Regions from separate parts of the Homo sapiens genome. Here region 1 is linked to region 2. Evidence: promoter capture Hi-C in human tissues and cell types (Jung and others, 2019). All regions are on one chromosome and are shown on one strand. The core of a region is centred on a gene start or on the middle of the fragment in contact, and the rest is flanking DNA. Distances in the headings are between cores, read along the strand shown. Region 1 has its middle 39 kb from the start of MYEOV. Region 2 holds the start of CCND1 (cyclin D1).

Region 1 (6,954 bases), core at 2,816-5,315, 310 kb before region 2:
GTTTCCCATGTTCCTCCCCACCCCCATCCCCAGGGAAACGCTTCTCTGCTAATTCTCATGATAGGTTGTTTGCATTTTCCAGAATTTTATATAAATAGGGTCATAAAGTATGCACTCTTGCTTTGCCTGGATTCTTTTGCTCAGTATAAGTATTCTGAGGTTCATCTACATTGTCACTTGTATGACTAGTTTGTTCCTTTTTATTGCGGAGTACTGTTTCACTAAGTGGATGCACTGGTTTGTTTTTATCTACTCCCCAGTTAACGGACATCAGAGTTGTTTCTAGTTTGGGGCTATTACAATAAGGCTGCTATGAACATCTGTGTATAAGCCTTTGTATGGATATAGGCTTTCATTTCTCTTGGGTACATATTGAGGAGTGAAATGGCTGGGTTATAACTACTGGTATTGAGATTGAGATTGTTTTGAATCTGTAGATCCATTTTGGGGGAATTGGCATCTTTTGACCCATGAATATGGTCTATTTCTCAATTTATTTTGGTATTCTTTAATTTCTCTCAGCAAATTTCAGTTTCACACAGGTTTTTATCAGACTTGTCTATGTGTGTATTTCCTATTTTTGTCGTGTTTCTGTAAATGTTTTTATTCCGGTTGTGTCATGTTGCTATTATACAGACACACAATGGCTTTTTGTATATGGATCTTCTATACCGCAAACTTGTTAAACTCGTTGGTGACTTCTAGTAGCTTTTTTCATAGACTCCATAAGATTTTCTCTGTAGATGGTCGAATTGTTTGTAAATAAAGCAGATTCATTTGCTCCTTTCTGATTCAAAGACACTTCCTCTCTCCCTCCCTCCCTTACTTCCCTTCTCTTTCCCTCCTCCTTCTTTTTTCTTTCTTCTTAAAATCTTACTAGACTGGCAAGAACCTTCCATGCAATATTGGTTAGAAGTGGTTAGAGAGCACATCCCTGCCTTATTCCTGATCTTAGAGGGAAAGATTTTGGTCTTTCACTATTAAGTATGATGTTAGTTGCGGGTTTTTCACAGATGCCCTTCACCAGGTTGAGGACGTTTCCTTTTATTCCTAGTTTATTGAGAGTTTTTATCAGCAATATATGTTGGATTTGGACTAATGCTTTTCCTGCATCCATTGAGACAATGTGCTTTTATATTGTAAATATAATATTTTCGCAATAATATTATGAATTACATTGTTTTCTAATGTTAAACCGAACTTGTATTCCTAAAATAAACTATACTGGATCATATGTATTATTTTTTTATGTGTTGCTGGACTTGATTTTTAAAACTTTGTTTAGAATGTTTGCATCTATTTCATGAGGGATATTAGTTTGTAGCTTTCTTTTCTTGTAATATATTTGTATGATTTTGATATTACAGTAGTGCTGGCTTCATAGAATAAGTTGGAAATACTCTTTTCTCTTAAATTTTCTGGCAAATTTTGTGTAGATTGAAATTATTTCTTTCTTAAGTGTTTTGTAAAATGCACCAGTGAGGCCTAGAGTTTTCTTTGTAGTAAAGTTTTTAACTTCTTAAAAAATATGGACTATTCAGGTTATCTATTTCTTCTTGAGTGAGCTTTATTAGTTTTTGTCTTTCAAGGAATTTGTCCATTACATCTGAATTGTCAAATTTCTTCGCATACAATTATTCATCATATTCCTTTTAATATGTGTGCAATCGGTAGTAATGCTACCTCTTTCATTTCTCATATTGGTAATTTGTCTTCTTTCTTTTCTTTCTGATGAGTAGGGTTTGATGTTTGTAAGTCGGATTGATCTTTTCAAATTACCAGTTTTGGGTTTCATTGATTCTATTTTTTTTATTTTATTGATTTCCGCTCTAATCTTTATTATTTCCTTTTTTTCTGTTTCTCTTTGGTTAGATTTGTCCTTTTTTCTCTAGTTTCTTCAGGTAAAAGCTGGGATATTTTAGTGCTATAAATTACTTAGAGTACTGGTTTAATCACATCCCACAGACTTTGTAGGTTGTGTTTTCATTTTCAAATATTTCAAAATGTTTTCCAATTTCCATTTTCTAATTATCTTTTTGATTTCTTTAAACTGTGCTTTACAGAGAAGTGTTATTTAGTTTCCAAATATTTGGGGATTTTACAGATATCATTCTATTATTTGGTGTCTAATTTTATTCTATTTTGGCCAGAAAACATGCATTGAATGATTTGTATCCTTTTAAATTTATTGAGATTTTTCACGCCCTTTTAAATTTATTGAGATGAGATTATGATATATTTTTGAAAAATGTTCTGTGTGTTTGAAGATAATTTATATTTTGCTGTCGTGAGTGAAGTGTTCTAAACATGCCAGTTGAGTCACATTGATTGCTAGATTGCTAGTGTTATTCAAGTCTTCTACATTCTTCTTCTTCTTTTTTTTTGGAGACAGAGTCTCACTTTGTCAGCCAGACTGGTGTGCAGTGGTGTGATCCTGGCTCACTGTAACCTCTACCTTCTGGGTTCAAGCAATTCTCCTGCCTCAGCCTCCGGAAGAGCTGGGACTACAGGCATGCACCACCATACCTGGCTAATTTTTGTATTTTTAGTGGAAATGACGTTTCGCCATGTTGGCCAGGCTAGTCTAGAACTCCTGACCTCAGGTGATCTGCCTGCTTCGGCCTCCCAAAGTGCTAGCATTACAGGTGTGAGCCACCATGCCCAGCCCTATATTCTTGTTGACTTCTGTACATTTGCCCTGTCAATCATAGAGCTGTTGAAACCTATTACTATAACTGGATTTGTCTATTTCTTTTGTAGTTCTATTCATTTTGCCTCATGTATTTTGAAGGTCTTATTTGGCATATAAACATCTAGAATTGTTATGTTCACTTGAGAATTGAAACCTTTTGTCATTATGAAATGACTATTCCTGGCAATATTCTTTCCTCTAAAATCTACTTTGCTATTAGTGTAGCAAAGTAGCAAATATGAACATAGCAAAGTACATTAGCATGGTAATTAGTGTGGTACATCTTTTTTTATCCTTTTGCTTTAAAATTATTATTTTTTTTATATTTAAAGTGGGCTTCTTGTAGGCAGCATGTAATTGGGTCTTGCTTGTTTTATCCAACCTATCAATCTTTGTTTCTTAATTGAGGTGTTTAGACCTTTACATTTAATGTGATTGTTGATATAATAGTATTTAATTCTGCCATCATGATTTTTGTTTTGTATTTGTATTACTTGTTCTGTGTTTCATTTTCCCTCCTTTCTACCTTCTTTGTGATTGAGTATTATTCATTCCTTCATTTTATCTTATTTGTTGGTTTATTAGCTGTAATTCTTTGCTGTATTATATTAGTGGTTGCTAAAGCGTTTATAGTATACATCTTTAACTTATCACAGTCTATCTTTGAATAATATTATCCTTCAGTGATATTATACTACCTAACATCTAGTAAAAGAAATTTATTGCAGTATACTTTCATTCCATGTCTCACCTTTGTACTATTGTTTTCATACCATTTAGGTGTCCAGTTGTGTTTGTGTCTGTATATGTGTGTGCACAGCAGTGAGAGGCAGCTATTATAGTTCCCATTTAGTTGTTGAGAAAAGTTTGGCTTTCCCACTTGTAAAAATCCTTTGCAGCTCAAATGTCCCCTCCTCCAGGCAGCCTTCCCCAGCCTCTGCCAATGACTTGAAATATTTCCCCATGTACAGGCATCCTTTGCCTGGGCCACACTCTTCTTGCAGAAGCAGGGCATGTCTTTTCTGTCTGCCCCATCAGATGGTCACCTACTTGAGGGCAGAGCTCAAAACCACAGGACTCTCCCTTGAGTCTTTCACAGCCCCTTGTCCACAGCTGGTGCTCCATATGCACTTACTGAATTGGCCTGAATGCCACGAGCCAGATTCAGCCCTGGCAGCAACCTCGTGGCTTCTCAAGGTGTGATGCTATGAAAAAAGCATGAGCTTTGAGATTGGAAAGACATGACTTAAAATTCTGAGCCCACCACTAATTGGCTGTGTGTGACTTGGGTGAGAAAGCATCACCTGAGCCTTTGTCTGTCCATTTGTATAATGGGGATCCTGTCAGGCTGGCTATAAAGACAGCTACAATGCACTAAAGCACTAGAACTTTGGCAGGTCTGTGTGGGCACTGAGGAAACACCAGCTTCTCTGATTCTCTGCCCCACACCTCCTTTCTGTTTGGCCCCCTCTCTTGCCCTGGGCCAAAGCTTAAAGTCTCACATCGTGAAGTCTTTCTGGTCCCTTTGTCCATTTGTCCATTTGCCAGTCCAATCTGCAGCCAGATGTCTATCCCCATGAGAGTCTGTCCTGCCAGAGCATTTAATAAATTTGTCATGGGACAGCTATGAGGCCACAGAGCAAGCCTTCCCAGGACACCTGATACGGGCTGGATAAACCCACCAGGCCTCTGGGATTAGTGTAGGTGGGAAGCCCAATTGGTGGTTGCTTAACTATTCACCCTATGATTCAGGAAGCTGAGATGGGGTGGGAAAGGTGATTGGCTACAGTGGGAGAGGCCCCAAGTTCCCCCATACCCTGGGGTGACCATGGGATTCAATTGTGGTTCTTTGTGTCCAGGGAACAGAAACCAACTCCAGCTGACCTAGGCAAAGGGGGCATTTGTTGGATGCATATGGGGTAGATTAGTGAATCTAAGGAAAACTACACCCCCAAGCTGGAGAGGTTGAGAGACAGCTCCAGGCATATTGGGAAGAGAGGCTGGACAGGAGAAAAGGCAACTGGTGCTCACCAGCCCCTGCTACATTCCTCGCCAACCCTGGTCTAATGCTCAAGGTCTTTGTACTGCAGCCATTGAACCTAAGACCTGGGCCCAGTCCTGGTGCCACCTTCAGTGGCTGTGTGACTTTAGGCAGGTCCCTTCCCCTCTCCAAGCTCAGTGTCTTCAGCTTGGGTTGTGAGAGTCTAATGCCATAGAGGATATGCTTGGTACAGTGAAAAGTTCTATGCCCTAGAGAGAGGTTGTCACTGCTTGGTGTGTGTATTAGCTTCCTGTGGCTACGGTCACAAATTAGCACAAATGAAGTAGCTTCTAACAATGCAAATTTATTCCCATACATTCTGGAGGTCAAATGTCTGAAATCAGTCTCCCTGGGCTAAAATCAAGGAGTCAGCAGGGCTGGTTTTTCTGGAGGCTCAGGAGGGAAATCCACTGGGGGCCCTTTCCAGCTTCTAGAGGCCACTTGTGTTCATTGGATTGTGGCCCCTTCCTTCATGTTCAAAACAACAGCATAGCTTCACCACACACCACAATCATTTCACCCATCGGCTTCTGTTGTAACAGCACTTTGCTTCTGTCTGTCCTCCCTGCCTCCTCTCTAAGGACCCTGAGATTCAATTTAGAGCCCACTTGGATAATCCAGCTCGGGATCATTTCCTTACTCACATCCGCACAGCCCTGTGTGCATATGCACAGCTCTGTTTGCGTATGCATGACCCTGTTTGCATATGCATGAATCTGTTTGCATATGCACGACCCTGATTGCATGTGCACAGTTCCGGGCATCAGTGTGTGGACACCTTTGGGAGGCTGGCAGTCAGTGCCCCACAGCGTGGCCTGTGCCCAGGGATGCCTTGATGTGGGGCAAAGAGCCTCGGTGGACACACCTGGGTTGACATTTTGACCCCCCATTCAATGCCAGTGGGGCACCCCTGGATGAGTCATTTGATCTCTCTGGAGCTCTTCATCCAGGAGATGGACATGATAGTTCCTGCTCCTCAGGGCTGCGGAAACTGAATGAGACCATACAGCTGTTTGTAAATGTGTCTTTCAGTGGCAGAGACTTCCTTTTCATCAGAATCTGGTGAGGAATCTCCTAACACACAGAGGTGATGGAAACACGGCTGCTGGGACCGGTGGACTCCCCACCTTCCCCACACAGGGCCACCCCCTTCCTGCCTGCAAGGACCCAGGGCTAGGAATGCAGTCGGAGAACCTGTGCGATAGAATGCAGCCTTGGGGTTCACAAGCAGGGGACGGGGACAGCTCCTCACTCTTCTACCTTGCTCTGTCCCACCCCATGGAGGGAGTGACACGGGAGCTACGCAGAGAAAAGAGCAAAGTGTGTCAGTGTCATGACTTGCCAAAGCTGATTGGAAGATGTGGCAGATTGTGTTTCTTTTCCCAACAATGACTGTCTCCTCCCTTAAGAGAATGGGATGTCCCCACCAACGCCATGTGGCTTGGCAGTGCCGCCTGCAGAAAGCGCCTCCATTCCTGTCCCTGTGCTGCTGGGGAGTACCACCTGCTTGCTTTGGTCAATGGAAGATGAGAGGACAACATTGACCCTTGGTCTGAGTGCAAGCGCTAAGTGCCATTGAGGTTGACGTGAGAAGAGCATGTGCCACCAGGAGCTGTGCCTTCAGCATGAGCCCTGGCACGCAAGCTGTGGGCAGACTCGTGGCTCCCATGCAAAGTGCAGGGGACATAAACCTTCACTGCTATACACCTCTGAGAGGTGCGGTGGTTTATACCACAGCAAAACTGCCAGGCAATGTAGCTTCCGAATGCTGAGTCATGCTGGGCTAATGATGGCCCTGTCTACTCGTACCTGGAATCCAGCCCTGGCCAAGCCCACTGAGGGATGTCTAGATTTGGGCACACGAACTTAGCTATATGTTACGTTATCTAGCCTGGGGCAGAGAGGGAAGGCAAGATATCAAGCCCCATGCCTAGGACTTTAAAAAAAATATCAGTTTTTACAGAGGAACAATTTACGTTCAATACATTGTACATCTTTTAAGAGTGAAGCTCAATGATCTTTCTTTGTGAGACAGGGTCTCACTCTGTCACCCAGGCTGGAGTCCAGGCGTGCGATCTCAGCTCACTGCAGCCTTGACCTCCCAGGCTCAAGCGATCCTCCCACCTCAGCCTTCCAAGTAGCTGGGACCACAGGCATGTGCCACCACACCCAGCTAATTTTTGTATTTTTTGTAGAGATGGAGTTTGACAATGCTGCCCAG
Region 2 (7,503 bases), core at 416-2,915:
GGGGGGCACGACCGTAGGTGCTCCCTGCTGGGGCAACCCATCGCTCCCCATGCGGAATCCGGGGGTAATTACCCCCCCAGGACCCGGAATATTAGTAATCCTAATTCCCGGCGGGGGAGGGGGCGCGGGAGGAATTCACCCTGAAAGGTGGGGGTGGGGGGGGTCGCATCTTGCTGTGAGCACCCTGGCGAAGGGGAGAGGGCTTTTTCTATCAGTTTTCTTTGAGCTTTTACTGTTAAGAGGGTACGGTGGTTTGATGACACTGAACTATATTCAAAAGGAAGTAAATGAACAGTTTTCTTAATTTGGGGCAGGTACTGTAAAAATAAAAACAAAAGTTAAGACAGTAAAATGTCCTTTTATTTTTTAATGCACCAAAGAGACAGAACCTGTAATTTTAAAAACTGTGTATTTTAATTTACATCTGCTTAAGTTTGCGATAATATTGGGGACCCTCTCATGTAACCACGAACACCTATCGATTTTGCTAAAAATCAGATCAGTACACTCGTTTGTTTAATTGATAATTGTTCTGAATTATGCCGGCTCCTGCCAGCCCCCTCACGCTCACGAATTCAGTCCCAGGGCAAATTCTAAAGGTGAAGGGACGTCTACACCCCCAACAAAACCAATTAGGAACCTTCGGTGGTCTTGTCCCAGGCAGAGGGGACTAATATTTCCAGCAATTTAATTTCTTTTTTAATTAAAAAAAATGAGTCAGAATGGAGATCACTGTTTCTCAGCTTTCCATTCAGAGGTGTGTTTCTCCCGGTTAAATTGCCGGCACGGGAAGGGAGGGGGTGCAGTTGGGGACCCCCGCAAGGACCGACTGGTCAAGGTAGGAAGGCAGCCCGAAGAGTCTCCAGGCTAGAAGGACAAGATGAAGGAAATGCTGGCCACCATCTTGGGCTGCTGCTGGAATTTTCGGGCATTTATTTTATTTTATTTTTTGAGCGAGCGCATGCTAAGCTGAAATCCCTTTAACTTTTAGGGTTACCCCCTTGGGCATTTGCAACGACGCCCCTGTGCGCCGGAATGAAACTTGCACAGGGGTTGTGTGCCCGGTCCTCCCCGTCCTTGCATGCTAAATTAGTTCTTGCAATTTACACGTGTTAATGAAAATGAAAGAAGATGCAGTCGCTGAGATTCTTTGGCCGTCTGTCCGCCCGTGGGTGCCCTCGTGGCGTTCTTGGAAATGCGCCCATTCTGCCGGCTTGGATATGGGGTGTCGCCGCGCCCCAGTCACCCCTTCTCGTGGTCTCCCCAGGCTGCGTGTGGCCTGCCGGCCTTCCTAGTTGTCCCCTACTGCAGAGCCACCTCCACCTCACCCCCTAAATCCCGGGGGACCCACTCGAGGCGGACGGGGCCCCCTGCACCCCTCTTCCCTGGCGGGGAGAAAGGCTGCAGCGGGGCGATTTGCATTTCTATGAAAACCGGACTACAGGGGCAACTCCGCCGCAGGGCAGGCGCGGCGCCTCAGGGATGGCTTTTGGGCTCTGCCCCTCGCTGCTCCCGGCGTTTGGCGCCCGCGCCCCCTCCCCCTGCGCCCGCCCCCGCCCCCCTCCCGCTCCCATTCTCTGCCGGGCTTTGATCTTTGCTTAACAACAGTAACGTCACACGGACTACAGGGGAGTTTTGTTGAAGTTGCAAAGTCCTGGAGCCTCCAGAGGGCTGTCGGCGCAGTAGCAGCGAGCAGCAGAGTCCGCACGCTCCGGCGAGGGGCAGAAGAGCGCGAGGGAGCGCGGGGCAGCAGAAGCGAGAGCCGAGCGCGGACCCAGCCAGGACCCACAGCCCTCCCCAGCTGCCCAGGAAGAGCCCCAGCCATGGAACACCAGCTCCTGTGCTGCGAAGTGGAAACCATCCGCCGCGCGTACCCCGATGCCAACCTCCTCAACGACCGGGTGCTGCGGGCCATGCTGAAGGCGGAGGAGACCTGCGCGCCCTCGGTGTCCTACTTCAAATGTGTGCAGAAGGAGGTCCTGCCGTCCATGCGGAAGATCGTCGCCACCTGGATGCTGGAGGTGCGGGGCTTCGGGCGGCTCTCTTAAGACTTCCCTGCAACTTGTTGCCCAGACCCACGTTTCTTTGCTACTCACCCCCCTCCCTTCTCTCCCGCTAGAACTTTGAAGTTTGCCGTGGTGTTTCTAGGGATCCGTATTTTCAAAATAAAAATTGCGGGTATTTTCTGAAGGAGGAAGGGGTGGGGGTGGGGGTGCTAGAAGTAGCGTTTCGTGGGAGGGGAGAAGGGGGTCCGGGAGGGGTGCCTTCGGGAGAAGCCAGTGCCAGGGGCACCCCAATGGGCCCGAGGGTGCGGGCTGGCAGGCTGGGTGCGCTTTGTGTCCCCCGCCTGCGCCCCAGCCCGGCTGCGCCTCAGCGGCCGGGAGCCGCCAACTCCGGGGGGAGGGGGCATAGATTTGATTTTTAAATTAATATCCATGGACACGTATGCAAGGGCCGCTCGTGCCAGTATTATGCGCCATCTTTGCTCTTTTATTGCAAAGCAAAAGTGTTTATTAATAATTGGGGGCAGGGTGGGGGCGGGGAGCGGCCGCCGGGCGCTGGGGCCGCAGCTAAGGGCCGCGCGGCTGCCGGGAGCCCGCGGGAGGGGCGCAGGGACGCGGCATGGGTAGTTTTGGGGGGACGCCGCTAGGGAAGGGGGGGCCTTTGTTCAAGCAGCGAGTCCCGGGGCGCCCCGAACGGGCAGCCTGGGCCGGAGAGCACGGCGAGCTGCAAGGTCGCGTGGCCCCCAAGACGCCAGGGCTTGATCCCCGTCTGCAGGGATATCGGCTTGGAGGACCTTCTCCGAGCGAGCCGGGGGCCTGGGAGCACATTTTCAGACCTTCGGTGGGCGCCTGAGGGGCCCGCAAGTATTTTAAAATAATTTTTGAAAGTGCGGCGTGGTGCCCTTGCGAGAGGGAAACGCCGCCCGCGCCCAGGGGGAAGGGGGGGCCCCGGAGTTTGAATTCCTGGGGCTCCCCCCGGAGCCTGTAACGAACTCCCAACCCCCGGCCTGGGTAAAGGGTCGCCCGAGGGTCATTTTCAGGGTTTTTTTATGCACTTAGTTATTTTTTTAATATTTTTAAATATTTTTTGAAAAGATGACGTCTGGGGAAATGCGGCGCGGCGGCCTGGGACGCCACCTTTGTGTCTCGCAGGCGCGGCGCCCAACCCCGCGGCCCGTTCCGCGGCCCCGCACCCCAGTTGGTGTCGACCCCCAGTCAGAGGGACCACGGAGCTCCAGGGCGGGCCAGGGTCCCGGGGGCCGGCAGCCCGCGCCGCCGCGCACGCCGCCCAGCTGTGCCCGCTCCCGCCCCCACCGTGCCAGCCTCGCGGGGACTTTCCCTTTCAGTTTCGGGGAGGGTGGGTACTGGGGACGCGCGGGGGAGGGGGCGCATCACGGGAAGCTCCTGCCGCCCCCAGCCCCGACCCCTCGGCGCCCTCCAGACCTGGCGGCCCTGCCAAGCGCGATGGGGGGTGCGGGGGCGTGCGGGGGGGCGGCGCGACCTGGCGGCGGCGGTCACGGGCCCCGTGCCTCCGTAGGTCTGCGAGGAACAGAAGTGCGAGGAGGAGGTCTTCCCGCTGGCCATGAACTACCTGGACCGCTTCCTGTCGCTGGAGCCCGTGAAAAAGAGCCGCCTGCAGCTGCTGGGGGCCACTTGCATGTTCGTGGCCTCTAAGATGAAGGAGACCATCCCCCTGACGGCCGAGAAGCTGTGCATCTACACCGACAACTCCATCCGGCCCGAGGAGCTGCTGGTAACCACTGGACCCCGCCGCCCCCCGCCCCCCGCGAGCCGCACGCAGGACCACGGGGCCGGGGAAGGTGCAGGCGGTGGCGGCCGGCCCGCCTCTGACATATCTGCTCCTCCGAGGGAGGGCGGCCCCGCCGCCGGGCGTCCCTGTCCGGGGAGCGGGCGGGATCCTAGCCGCCCTCGTCCCGCCGCCCTGTGTGCGCTTGCCTGCGACTCCCACCGCGTTCGCGCCCCGCGGTGTGGCCGAAAAGTGGGCGGCGCGCGCCCTCCAGCGGCTGCACGAGGAGCGCCGCGCTCGGCGCTGAGCCTCCAGTTCCAGGTGGTGGGAGGTCTTTTTGTTTCCACTTGCAGAGTCTTTTCACGCGGCGGGCGCCTTTTCTGTTTTGATCTGGGATTGCGTGTTGCCCCAGCTCCCTTGAGTCCCCAGCATTCGCCAGCCCTCCCCTCCAACATCCAGGACCGCACGAGACGCAGGGGCCAGTGCTCTGAGCCGGAGGTGCGGCGTGGCCCGGCCCCCGTGCTGCCGGCTTCCCCGCGCCCCCGGGCTGGCCCGCACCTCCCCTGATGGCCGCTCACCCTGTGTTCGCAGCAAATGGAGCTGCTCCTGGTGAACAAGCTCAAGTGGAACCTGGCCGCAATGACCCCGCACGATTTCATTGAACACTTCCTCTCCAAAATGCCAGAGGCGGAGGAGAACAAACAGATCATCCGCAAACACGCGCAGACCTTCGTTGCCCTCTGTGCCACAGGTAGGGCAGGCCCGGCAGCCCCCGGCCTCCCCTTGAGAGCCGGCTCCTTAGGTGACCCTGGCCGGCTTCTTGCTCTCCACCTGGGTGCTGTCTGGGAAGATGTCCCCAGACCCCCTCCTGCGCTGGAGAGCGCTCTTCCAGCTCTGGTGAGCAGAGGCCCTGGATTGTTTGTCGCGCTGGATGGAGGGAGATTTGCTCCCTCACGGCCACCATGCAGTACCTTGGGCATTGGTGTGGACGGCTCAGCCTGCCTGTGTCCCGTTACTCTGGCCTCGTCCTTCAGGCCAGGCAGCCTGTGGCCACTCCATGCTGAAAGGGGTTTACCTTGGCCACAGGGCCGCCTCCTTTCTCCACCCACCTCCAGCCCTTCTTGTGTCCTTAAGGAGCCTGAGCTGCAGAGGCCCCCTCCTGGCCTCTCCCAGGCTGGGCCACCTGCCAGAGGCGCCTCCAGGGGCGGGGAGAGCTGTCGGCCTGCCTGCACCACGTGCTCTGGGCAGCCGAGTGCAGGGGTGTCCAGCAGAGGAGCTCGGCTGCCTGAGGCCCTGCCAGGGGTGCCGGCAGCCAGCCGGGCTCAGCTGAGCCCTGAGGGGGCGCTTCAGAGCACTCTCAGCTTGGGCCGCCACCGTGGGCAGCAGAAGCACCCAGTCCTCACTTCCCCTGGCATGGCCCCAGAGGCCCCTCCCTGACATGGCCTTGGCCCCAGAACCCAGTGGGGACAGACTCGCACATACACAGGGTGCCGCCTCCTGCTGTCCCCAGCCCTGCCTCTGACCCCCCTGTGACCGCCTCCTTCCCTGGCCCAGGAGGCCTGGTTACCTTCATGGGGGAGCATGGCCCCATCCCACCCAGCTCTGCTGTGGCCCACCTTTGGTCAAGCCTCAGTTGTCACATCTGTTTGGGGGCTCACTCTGGGTGACCTAGGCCACAAGGCCCACGGGGCATCAAAGAGGCAGTAGCATCTTCTCCCCTCCCCAGAGGGCAGAGCCCCCCAAGCCTACTTCAGAGCTCCCTTCTGACACCGGTAGCCCGCAGCCGGTATTCCAGAATGGGTTCTGGTTTAGGCGTGAGGCCTCCCCCACCTCCTCCACCTGCTTGGGGCATGAACCCCTCCCCCACGTTTCCAAGCGAGTCCCCAAGGTGGGCAGATGAAGATGCCAAGGATGTCGACCAGTCTGGATGGGTCTGGGGTGGGGGGGCATGCGGCAGACAGGGAGGCATTCTCTGGCTGGTGCTCCTCAGAGGAGAGAGGCCTCCGGAGACTCCAGACAGCCTTTTATGGAGCTGAAAGTGGCTTCAGAGAAATGCAAAGTTTCCTGGAGAGAACGTGGGGCGTGGTTCTTGCACAGCCTCCCTACAGGGTGGCTCCAGCAGTGGAGCTCCCCTCCCAGGACCCCTGGGTGCTAGTGGGAGGCAGTGGGCAGGTGCAGATTCTCGTCCTTCCCACTACTGCACACCCTTTGTCTGCGAAGGCGCCCCCAGCGGTGGGTGAAGGAGGAGGGACACTTGGGGACCCAGCTGTGCACGTGCTCTCAGTGACTGTGGAGTCCACTCCAGGGTGGGTCCCGAGGGAGGGGCAGGAGACCAGGGGACCCACCCCTGCAAAGTGCTCCGGGTCCTGACCCGTGGCCACCCCATGGAACGTAACTGAGCAGCCAGTGCCTTGTTCCTGCTGGACATCTGTGGAGACAAGAGTGACTTACGGCTGCTTAAAGTCAGAAACAGGTTGAAGGAGGTGGAGGCGTGGGAAAGAGTCTAGGAAGGTGTTTTTGCCCTCCACGTGGCAAAGGTTACATTTAAAGGTGATGCTGGGTGTTCTCCCTGCACTAGGCATTCCTGGCCCCAGGTCCCCAGCAGGTGTGCACATGCTGCATACACTCACGCATGGGGGTTTCAGGGCAGGTGCGCCCTTGGCTCCGTGGGAGGCCAGGTGAGGAACGTCCAGTGCCAAGGAGCTTCCGGGACAGCTGTCACTTCCCTTTACAACCAGGCAGCGGATAGGGTCAAATCCTGGAGCTTTGGTGTCTAATTCTGGGTGGCTCCTAATCTAAGCACAGACAGCACCACACACTGGGGTGGGGGCACGAGCTTCTGAAACAACGTGGCCCCAGTGACTCCACGCTGTGTGTGCCCCTGGAGACGGGGGGGTGCACAAGGTGCGGAGCCAGCTAGAACCTGTCGCTCCCTGCAGAAGCGGTTTCTGTGTGCGGTTCTGATTTGCCTCAATGAGAAGGTTTTCATTCATGGCTCCCGGCTCTCAGACTGGGTGGAACTGCTCCCATTTAAAGGGGAAAAGAGGTGGCTCGGCTCGTTAAGGATTTCTTTTTCTAAGTTGTTACGGCGCCCAGCAGCCGGCTTTGTCTCCCCTTCAGGGTGGCTGCCTTTCTTCCCGGCCCCTCGCCGGCGGCCCTCTCTTTAACAAGGCCGAAGTTGTTTATTCTCTCGGGATGAAGTCTCGGATGGGCCGCCACACCCCTGGCGGCCCGTGGGGGCCCCTCTCCCTTTGTGCCTGGGTCGGCTCCCATTCAGCTCCCCCGACCCCCCTTGTTCCCGGGCGCTCAGTGGCGCGAGATGAGGCGATGGGGCCGACAAAGATGCCACACTCATCCCTGCCGACGTCCGGCTCCCAGCCCAGGGCCCCTGGTTCCTGTGCAGAATTCCTCGTGGGTGTGACAAAAGGCTGCCCCCAGGCTCCGCTGGGGTGGGGGCCAGGCCAAGAGGCACATCCCACACTGGCCCACCTGTCCACGGTAGGCGCATGACTGCCCTGAGGAGGGGAGGCCGGCATTCCCCGCCACAAACCAGGACGTAATTGGTGGCAGGGCTCTCTGTGGAAAGAGCCAGTCTGCTGTTTGTCTAGGAGGTCAGTCACAGAGGCCCCGAGACGCCCACTACTGCAGCCTGGCAGGCGGATGAGCCCAGTATCTGGCAGTGACCAGAGGGAGTTTTGTGCAGACCACAAAGGCTGATGGGCCGCCCTAGATTGGTGTCCCTCTTGGAAGTGG

The links. Contacts are between HindIII fragments. The study calls those that stand out against the background at their distance.
Region 1: a fragment that was not itself captured here is called in contact with the fragment with the promoter of CCND1 in region 2 in 1 of the 25 tissues and cell types used here (mesenchymal stem cells).

Annotation. Positions count from the first base shown.
Region 1 is chr11:69,329,711-69,336,664 of GRCh38, forward strand. No RefSeq gene overlaps it. Among named protein-coding and RNA genes, the nearest start is that of MYEOV, 39 kb to the left of the region's middle. The HindIII fragment of the contact is 5,852 bases long and covers 1,140-6,954 here.
Region 2 is chr11:69,639,491-69,646,993 of GRCh38, forward strand. CCND1 (cyclin D1) reads left to right here and starts at 1,666. Exons shown (of 5, transcript NM_053056.3): 1 at 1,666-2,021; 2 at 3,541-3,756; 3 at 4,342-4,501. The coding sequence starts at 1,824. RefSeq lists enhancers at 1-429, 1,937-2,639, 4,158-4,902 and silencers at 3,262-3,401, 3,492-3,551, 3,682-3,941. The HindIII fragment of the contact is 19,039 bases long and covers 1-7,503 here.